Regions from separate parts of the Homo sapiens genome. Here region 2 is linked to region 1. The links are contacts of gene promoters, found by promoter capture Hi-C in blood cells and fetal thymus (Javierre and others, 2016). All regions are on one chromosome and are shown on one strand. Each heading gives the region's core, a stretch centred on a gene start or on the middle of the fragment in contact. The rest is flanking DNA. Distances are from core to core; before and after follow the strand shown.

Region 1 (5,185 bases), core at 1,304-3,803:
ACTGTTTCCCAAAGTGGCTGGCTCATGTCGCTGTCATATTTGGCTCTGCTAACTGCGTAGATTTCCCCATGTAGGATGTTAGGACTTGACTGTTTCCCAAAGTGGCTGGCTCATGTCGCTGTCATATTTGGCTCTGCTAACTGCGTAGATTTCCCCATGTAGGATGTTAGGACTTGACTTTCCCACCGAGGACCTTAGAAGGGGCGTTCAATGGCCATTTCTGCTGCGACATTTCAGTAGCTTCTGGGTCCCACCCTCCAGGCAACCTCTTCTTCCTCAGCCTGGTTCTGTGACCTTGTGCCCCCTGCCACTCCTCCATTCTTAGCTCCACATGGGGCACCCACATCTTCCCCCTCCCAGAGCCCCCTCCCCAACTTCCCACCCCTGTCTGTCCCGCTTTTTTTTTTTTTTTTTTTTTGAGACAGAGTCTCATTCTGTTGCCCAGGCTGGAGTGCAATGGCGCGATCTTGGCTCACTGCAAACTCCACCTCTCAGGTTCAAGCGATTCTCCTGCCTCAGCCTCCTGAGTAGCTGGGATCACAGGCACCCACCATCTCGCCTGGCTAATTTTTGTATTTTTTTTAGTAGAGATGGGGTTTCACCATGTTGGCCAGGTTGGTCTCCAACTCCTGACCTCAGGTGATCCGCCCGCCTCGGTTTCCCAAAGTGCTGGGATTACAGGCGTGAGCCACCACGCCCGGCCAGCTCTCTGCAGACACCATCTGGGCGTCCTACACTTCAGTTCAATTCTGACGCTGGCCACCCAGAGTTAGCACAGGCCCGAGAGGATATGGGCTCCGTCCTGCAAGACCGTCCCTACTTCAGATGTCAGTTGCAAAGATTGGGCGCTCAGGTTACCCACACTTCCGTCTGACTTGGCTACACATCAGGGGTCCCCAGAACGCCCTCCTCGGGTTTGGTAATTGGCTAAAATGGCTCACAGAACTCAGGGAAACACTTTGGTTACATGTATAGGTTTCTAAGACCTTATACAAACTGGGCCCATTAGTCTTTGCTCCCTGATACTATCTGATACCATCTGGTCTCATTCCTTCCTGAATGGAATAATTCCTTCCTCATTCATTATCACAAGGACAATAATGTCCTTGTAAAGGACATTATTGATGATACAGATGAACAGGAAGACGAAGAGGCACACAGGGCGAGCTCTGGTGGGGCCCGGGCACAGGAGCTTCTGTCCCCGTGGAGTTGGGGGGCGCCACCCTCCCAGCATGCGGATGTGTCCACCAGCCCAGAAGCTCTCTGGATCCTGTAGTTCAGGGATTTTTACGGAGGCTTCATTACTTACGCGTGATGGATTATTAGCTCAATCTCCAGCCCCTCTCCCTTTCCTGGAGGGTGGGGGTGGAGCCAAAAGCTCCAGGCTCCTCGTCGAATCTGGGTCTTTCTGGTGCTCAGCCCCCAACCCCACCCAGGAGCCACTGAGAGTCACCTCATTAAACCAAAGACAAGGGATTAGGAGCTTTGTGTCAGGAACCCGGAAAGAGACCAAATAGAAGTGAATGTTTCTTATTATGTCACACAGCCACACCACGAGGTTGGTGCAGGAGCCCTTGAAGGAAGCCCTTGGAGGATCTGAGACCAAGAGGGCCTGATCAGATCGGAGTTTTGGAAATGTAACCTGGCAGCCTAGGGGAGGACTGGACAGAGTGGGGAGGACAGAGGGGAACTGATTCACCAGAGGGAGGGCGTGAAGTGAGTGAATGAATGAGTGAACCAATGAATGAACAAGATGGGAAGGAAGGAGTGAGACCAGATGGTATCAGATAGTATCAGGGAGCAAAGACTAACGGGCCCAGTTTGTATGAGGTCTTAGAAACCAGATCAAGGAGGTGGGATCAACGGTGCTTTCCTCTAAAGAAGCACATTTCCGGCCGGGCGCGGTGGCTCACGCCTGTAGACCCAGCACTTTGGGAGGCCGAGGCGGGTGGATCACCTGAGGTCAGGAGTTCGAGACCAGCCTGGCCAACACGGTGAAAACCCATCTCTACTAAAAATACAAAAATTAGCTGGGCATGGTGGGGGGTGCCTGTAATCCACACTACACAGGAGGCTGAGGCAGAGAGAATGGTTTGAACCCCCGGGAGGCAGAGACTGCAGTGAGCTGAGATCACGCCACTGCACTCCAGCCTGGGCGACAGAGCGAGACCCTGTCTCAAAAAAAAAAAAAAAAAAAAGAAGCAGCAGCAGCAGCAAATTTCCAGGAAGAAGCAGGCTATGGAGATCAGGGCAGGCAAAGGACAGAATTAGGTTAGTGCATCAACTGGGTCCAACCAGGAAGACACATGTGTTTATCTCCTGCAGCACCAAAAACCACCCAGAAGACAGCTCAGTGGACCCTAGCAGTGGATTCTACATGTCTGCAGAAAATGAGCAGAAAACAAGCCAGAGTTACAGCTATCTGCAGAGAGACTACATCCAGGAGGTCTGAAGACTGAAAGTAATCACTGCAGTCTGACTTCTACCACTGACACCCTTCCCATACATAATTTAAATGTGTAATTATAATACCATTGCTTAGTTAACGGACACCAATTCGTGCAGGAGCTGCCACAAACAGTAATAAACCAGCTGTGTTAGAAATGGATCACTTATCAGTGCGTGCCCAAGCCTCCTAATGCCTCATGATGTTTAATAATTAAATTGTGACACCTTGAACCCGCAGCTGACACCATGAATCACAGTGGAATTCTCCAAATGGAATGCAGCCACACCTCAGCTTCTGTGCTGCGTGCTGCCACTGAGGACATTCGATACCATTGAAGCCGTCAGATAGAGGTGGGTTATTTCCCTGTGCCCTGCACCTCCCTTCTGGCAAGTCCCTGGGAAGCAGTGGCCACAGATGAGCTGCTGCTCTCTTAAAGACTGAGATCAGGCCGGGCGCGGTGGCTCATGCCTGTAATCCCAGCACTTTGGGAGGCTGAGGCAGGCAGATCACCTGAGGTTGGGAGTTCGAGACCAGCCTGGCCAACATGACGAAACCCTGTCTCTACTAAAAAATACAAAAAATATTAGCTGGGTGTGGTGGTACGCGCTTGTAATCCCAGCTACTTGGGAGGCTGAGGCACAAGAGTTTCTTGAACCCAGGAGGCAGAGGTTATATGGAGTCTCGCTCTGTCACCCAGGCTGGAGTGCAGTGGCTCAATCTCGGCTCACTGCAACCTCATTTCAGGAGATGAGACCGGCATCCTTGTGGGAGAAGATGGCCCTGAGCTGGGCATGGCAGAAGGGCTGCGGAGTGTGTGTGTGTGTGTGTGTGGTGTGTGTGTGTGTGCACACATGCGCACATGTGTGTGTGAGAGAATGTGTGTGTGTTGGAGATGATTACCGAAGCCTTCCTGGCACATAGTAGGTCTTTTTTCCCACAAAGAGTAATGTGATTATTGGTAGTAATGGTGACTGTCACCGTGCTTCTCACAGGCCGTATTTCAAAAGGTCTACGGTGGCTCCGTTTCTTCTCTGAGACTTCAAAAGTCCTTCAAGAGTGAGTTCCCGTCTCATTCTATGTCCAGGATGAAGACGGATGGCCTCTTGGCACCCATCTCTTTGGCATGAACGATGTGGGGAAACGTGAATGGAAATGGGGAACTGTTGCTGGCACCCAGAAGTCATCCGGTCCGGATGAAGCCAAGTCACAAGGAAGTGCCTCCAATTATTCTTCATAAATTCCTCTGAGGTTTCACTTCTTGTCCACACAAGACTTTAATAAAATGTGGCATCTAACTGAATAAAGACTATCCTTTCGGGTGTGTGTGTCATGACAGTACTATTTATGGAGGACCTCCTGTGTAGCAGTTCTTGCACTGTTTTACGTAATCATCCCCTTTCATCCTAACAATCACTCCTGTGAAGTATGTGTCCTTATTTTCATTTCGTTGTAGAGAAAACCAAGGCTCTGAGACATTAAGCAATGTGCCCAAGGACACACAGCTAGTAAGTGGCTGGATTTGAGCGCAAGCCTACAAGAAACTGTAAGTTTCTTATTTGTATTTATTAATTCATCATATTGTCATTTCTTCAAAATGCAACTGAATCTCATAAAATGTCAGTGGCAGAATCTAGGTGGAAGGTGCCCTGGTATTCACTGTAAAATTCCTTCAACTCGGCTGTATATTTGAAAATTTTCATGTTACAATATTAGGAAAAAAACCCTTGATTTCCAGGTGTTTTTTCACCTGGACAAACTTGAGAACTTTGGAAAAGCTGGCTTACCTCCTCGAATTCTAGTTGGCTGGCTTGGCTGGGTTGGCTGGGTGGGCCCTGGCACCCTCCACTCAATGCCCACCTGCATGTTAAAACGGGTCCTGCTAGGACCCTGGGCAGCCCAGGCACTTCTGACACATGCCACAGACTTCCTCTGTACAGTAGAATAGATGTCCCTTAGGAATAAAAAAAAAAAACAGGCAGCTTTCTGGTCGAATACCACTCTATGACACCTTCTGGGACCTTCCCTCCAAGTTTCTTCTACCAGATCAACAAGAAGGATTCAACTTGGTGTCTCTGTGTGTTTTGCTGTCTCATGCTGCTTATAAACTGCTTTGCCTTTAGCAATGTCCCTCAGTTATCTTGTTCTAAGGCTACAATTAAGAAGGAATCACTGTTGTGGAGGAACTCAGAGGCACCTCCAGCTCCCATTAGCTGGTCCCTTAATGCCGCTGATGCGAGGCTCTGACAGTAATTACTTTGCAAGTATAATGAGATACTTATGGGTCCATCAGGTGCCCAACCCATAGCATGATATGAAATATGAAGAGTTAAGCTGGTGGGTAATTTACACAACTGTCTACCAAGTCTCTCCAGGATGATTAAGAAAAGGAAATGCCGGATTGAAAAGATGCCAAGCTTCCAGAGCGCGTTCATGTGGCTCGATTGACAGTGGCAACCATTATCGTCATCACCGTCATCGCTGCTTTTAACGGTTAATGATAATAAGCCGTCACACACGGATGCAGCACTTTGCAATGCACAAAGCCCTCTTGCACTCATGCTCTCCAGCGCTCCTCACTGCCATCTGGGAATCTCCACTTTGCAGATGTGGAAACTGAAGCTCGGACGATGGCAGTGACTCGCCCTGCTAGCCCTGCCGAGAGAGGTCTGCCTTTGCCTCCCTGATTCTGAATCAGATAGGGTCAGGACTCCCTCTATTCCCCTGGGCTCCTCAACC
Region 2 (5,185 bases), core at 1,466-3,965, 240 kb before region 1:
AATATTGTCCTTTGTCTCTTTAAACACATCGAATAAAGTTATTTGAAATTCCTGCCTGAAGACTCCACTATCAGGAGCCCCTCTAAGTTTGTTTCTATTTGTTATCGCTTCTTTTGACTTTCATATCGTGTTGTCTCGTCACCTCCTATTTTTGATTGAGACAACGTATGAAAAACTATACAAATAATGCAAGACCAAGGGTAGAGCCGTTTTCCTGAGATTTCTGTTGCTAGACGCCTGAGTGAGCAGCACTCCAGGATGTAGTGCATCACTGACATCACACGTCATAGCACACAAGGGGAACTTTAGTTCAGTTTCTGGGGTGCAAATGGTTGGAAACTGAGTGTGGTCTCTGGGAGGAACTACTTCCGGTTCACTGCGACTCTTCTGATTCAGCCCACTGGGTCCCCTGCCTGTAGCAATGGAGGTTCACCGGGACAGCATCCCACCACCTTGGCTCCCAGGACTCTCATAAGCACTCTTTGGCCTCTTAGCCACTCTGCCTCCTCCTCTGAAGTGAAAAATACTTTCAGAGGAAACAGCAACCCAAATACACTTATCTTCCTGGGCCTCTTTTCACTCCCAGACCCTGGCCCTGTAATTCCTTGCTGTGTCTTGCTAGCTCCCAGGTACCTTTAAACAGTAGCTGAAACTATTCTGACCTGTGTTTCAGTTGCCTTCAGAGGGGTTTGGTCAGAACTACCTAGTTGGGAAGTGCCTTTTCTTTTCTAATATGATTACTTCTCTGAGACAAATCTTCTCTAACCCCTTATCTTCCTTCCTTGACCTCCCACAGTATGCAACCTAAAACAAAGATAAGGCTTTAAGCCCTAAGATGTTGACTGCAGCATTTCTAATGATAAGAAGCAGAAAATAAAATGTCTAACAAGAAGGGAATGGTAGCCGGGTGCACTGGCTCACACCTGTAGACCCAGCTACTCAGGAGGCTGAAGTGGGAGGATCAATTGAGCCCAGGAGTTCAAGGCTGCAGGGAACCATGGTTGTGGCATTGAATTTCAGCCTGTGTGATAGAGCAAGACCCCCTCCCCACCAATACATAAATATATTTAAAAAAGAAGGGAATGCTCAAGTCCATTATGGTACATTTTTGTGATAAAGCCATTACAATTTTTTTGAGGGGTCTCTAGCATACTGAGGAGCCTCATGCTCTAATGTTGAGAGCAAGTTTAGACTGTGGGCCACACGTTGACAGCAGGCCTGCTTCACTAGTCTTTCTACAACCTCACCCTAGATAATCTCATTGATTTCCATGGCTTCATATCATCTATACATAAAACCAATCATTCCAAATATCTATTTCCAATACTGATCTGTCTTCTGAGCCCTAGTTTATAGGTCCAATTACTTTTTAAAATCATCACCACTTGGATGTCTCAAAAGCATCTCAAACTTCATTTGCCCAAAATAGAATTCTGGATTCTCTTTGCCACAAATAAAACATACACAAGAACCAATCTTCACATTCAACTTTTCCACCCCAGTGAATGGACAATCATCCACCCAGCTGTTCGACAGATCTCAGGAGCTACTCTTGTGGACTTCATGCACTCCACCCTCAGCTTGTCCTACGGATCCTCCCTCAGACACACAGTTCCAACTCAAGTCTCTCTCTCCATTTCCACTGCCACCATGCTTGTCTAGATCACTGTCATCAACAGCCCCATACGCAATTTCTCTACTTTCATTCTTTCTCCTCTCCATTTTCCACACTGCAGCAAGAGTAGTCATTTAAAAGTGCAAGCAGAATCTTGGCATTCCTCTGCTAAAAATGGCTCAATAGCTTCCCAGTGTACTTCAAGCAAAATTCAAATTCCTCCCATGGCCTTGAAGACCCTGCATGATCTGATTCCTGCTGACCCCTCTGACTTGGTCTTATGATGTTCTCCCCTGGCCACCAGGCACTGGGCCCACTGGCCACCCACCTGGTCCCTGAACAGGTGAAGCTTTTCCAATTTTGGGGCCTCTGCACTTGCTGCTCCCTCTTCCAGAACACTTCTCTCTGATTCTTTGCACAGCTGGCACCTTTTCAACCTTCTTCTGGCTTTTACTCAAAAAGAACACCCCAGTTACCATCAACTTGCCTATTTTCTTCATGGCACTTACTACAATATGCAATGCTCTCGTTTTACATATTTGTTCACTTATTAATAACTTTCTGTCACCCTCACCAGAAGATAATCCTTATGAGAGCAGAGGCCATGTCTGTCTTGTTCACTGTTGTATCCCTAGTGCATGGTACAGTCCTCGAGGGGGAAACGTAGGCTCAGAGTGGTTAAGTAACTTGCTCAAGGCCACACAGCTGGCAAGTGAAGTTGAGATTTGAACTTGAGTTTTTCTAATTGCAAGCGTATGTTCTTCCCATAGCACTCTCCTTGCTCTACATCTGATATGGTTTGGATTTGTGTCCCTGCCCAATTTTCATGTTCAACTGTAATCCCCAATGTCCTGATAGGAGGTGACTGGATCATGTGGGTGGATTTCACCCTTGCTGTTATCATGATAGTGAGTTCTCACAACATCTGGTTAAAAGTGTGTAGCACTTCTCCACCACCCTCACTCTCTTCCTCCTGCTCCAGCCATGTAAGACGTGCCTGCTTCCCCTTCTGCCATGATCCTAAGTTTCCTGAGGCCTCCCCAGCCATACTTCCTGTATAGCCTGCAGAGCCGTGAGCCAATTAAACCTCTTTTCTTTATAAATTACCCAGTCTCAGGGAGTTCTGTATAGCAATGCGAGAATGCACTAACACAACGTCCAAAGCCATAGTCCAGGCATTTCTGCTATATTAATTTTCCACGATTCTGGGAAAAGAAGCTATCTATTTTTTTCTCACTCATTCTCTTCCAATTAACTATAGCAATTAATCACTAAGCATTAACTGCTGTGTGTCCTTGGGCATAACTTCTCTGTGACTCAACTTCCTCATTCATATAATGGGATTAATACCAGGACTAAGCACTTCACACACAACCACTTGCTTGTGCTCTCATGTGCTCTCATCAGGCAGGTGGTATTATGAGCCGCATTTTCAGTGGGGCTGACAATGAGAAAATGGGGACACCCAGAACTTATAGAACCTGCCCATGGGTTAAGCAGGAGAAAGAGCAGGGACTGAAACCCAGGAATTCTAGCTTCAGAGCTGATATTCTTGGCCAATACACTTTACAAAGTGGTGGAAAAATTAAATCCGTATGATAAAAATTGCCTAAGCCCTTGCTTCAATGATGTGAAATAAGCATAGAAATTTGTGAGTAAATGAATAATGTATATGACGTTGTTTAAACAAAAAGAAACATTTAATATAATGTTTCTAATTTAAGCAAGAATAAATAATTATGGAAAACTGTGAAAATTAATTTCCACTGACAGGAATGTCTCTGGTTGAGATGAGGAAAGTCTGATGGATGAGTTAATACCATAACCACTATGTTTACAGCAAAAGCTTACAAATTCATTTATATTGTGGATGGTATATGAAATTCATATTGCAAAGTATCACATAATATTTGACCTCAAAATATAAATAAATATATAAAGTGTGTAGGAAAGAGGAAACAGATATTGTGTCATACAAACACAAGAAAAAAAATCTGAAGTTTGAAAACAAGGTTTTTAATTGATTTTATGTGGACAAGCCAATATGGCTGAAACGATCAGAACCTTGGACAGCACCGAGAGGGTGTTTTTTTGTTGTTGTTTTTTTGGTTCCCCCCCACCCCACAGGCTTGGTTTTATATTAGATCTTAAATGTTAAGGTTCTTCCTCAACTTTTCTGCATTTAAAAATTCCGCCTCAATTCTACTGCTTCACATGTGAAGCACTTATGTGTAGAACTTACTGATGATGAAAGATTTTTTAAAAAGTTTTCTTCCTGCAAAGACTGGAATTTTTGTTCTAACATCTTTGTTTATTCATTCAAGGACAGAAACTAAAGGACAGTAAAAAAATCATTTTAAGACCAGGCGCAGTGGCTCATGCTTGTAATCCCAGCATTTTGGGAGGCCAAGGAGGGCGGATCATGAGGTTAGGAGTTTGAGACCAGCCTGGCAACATGGTGAAACCCCATCTGTACTAAAAATACAAAAATTATAATCCCAGCTACTCAGGAGGCTGAGGCAGGAGAACTGCTTGAACCTGGGAAGCAGAGGTTGCAGTGAACTGAGATTGTGCCACTGCACTCCAGCTTGGGTGACAGAGCAAGACTCCATCTCGAAAAAAAAAAATCATTTAAATAACACTTAAATGCCATGTGTTATCAGGGCAGCACATGAATGACTTCAAGAGAGAATGGATGTAAGATGCACACAAAAAAATTTGATTTAAAGACGTATTAATTGGTAGCCCAAATCATCTCAATCATTTTTTCTATATCCTATTTTGCAAATGACATGTTTTAGCAGTTTCCAAAGCCCTATGCTTAGATTGTGAAGTTACTGAACAACAACAAAAAAATGCATCTCAATGTTAGCTCCTAAAAACAAAAACAAGAACAGAACCACAAAATCAGGACGTTGTATTAGTGCGTTCTCATATTGCTACACAGAACTCCTTGAGACTAGATAATTTATAAAGAAAAGAGGTTTAATTGGCTCATGGCTCTGCAGGCTATACAGGAAGGATGGCTCGGGAGGCCTCAGGAAACTTAGGATCATGGCAGAAGAGGAAGCAGGCATGTCTTACACGGCTGGGGCAGGAGGACAATGAACAAATATTAACAAATCCTAACAGTTTAGTAAGTTGGCCCTTGAAATCTGTGGAGTATTGGTTTCAGGAACCCCCGCTTGGATGCCAAAATCTATGGATGCTCAAGTCTCTGATATGAGCCTTCACAGTATTTGCATATAAACTACCCGCATTCTCCCACATACTTTAAATCATCTCCAGATTACTTGTAACACCTAATAAAATGTAAATGCTATGGAAATAGTTGTTACCTTGTATTTTAAAATTTGTATTATTTTTTGTTGTTGTACTACTATTTTATTTTTCCTGAGTATTTTCAATCCCCAGTTGGTTCAATCTGTGGATACAGAGAGCCGACTGTTTTAAGATTGCAAAAATAAGTATTTTTGAAATCTTCACATCCATTGTTAAGGTATTAAAAAATAATCACTCTGCAAATACTTGGACTCAGTATCAAGCTGAGAAGCCTTCCCCTCTATCTTT

What was found. The method cuts DNA at HindIII sites, captures the fragments that hold promoters and counts their contacts. A CHiCAGO score of 5 or more calls a contact.
Region 2: a contact is called between a fragment that was not itself captured here and the fragment with the promoter of LINC01589 in region 1, in 1 of 17 cell types (endothelial precursors). The highest score is 5.1, in endothelial precursors.

Annotation. Positions count from the first base shown.
Region 1 is chr22:45,603,015-45,608,199 of GRCh38, reverse strand. It overlaps LINC01589 (long intergenic non-protein coding RNA 1589), which reads left to right and starts at 2,553. Exons shown (of 2, transcript NR_131244.1): 1 at 2,553-2,799; 2 at 3,442-3,768. The HindIII fragment of the contact is 5,695 bases long and covers 1-4,865 here.
Region 2 is chr22:45,845,652-45,850,836 of GRCh38, reverse strand. No RefSeq gene overlaps it. Among named protein-coding and RNA genes, the nearest start is that of MIR4762, 88 kb to the right of the region's middle. RefSeq lists an enhancer at 4,417-5,185. The HindIII fragment of the contact is 1,497 bases long and covers 1,967-3,463 here.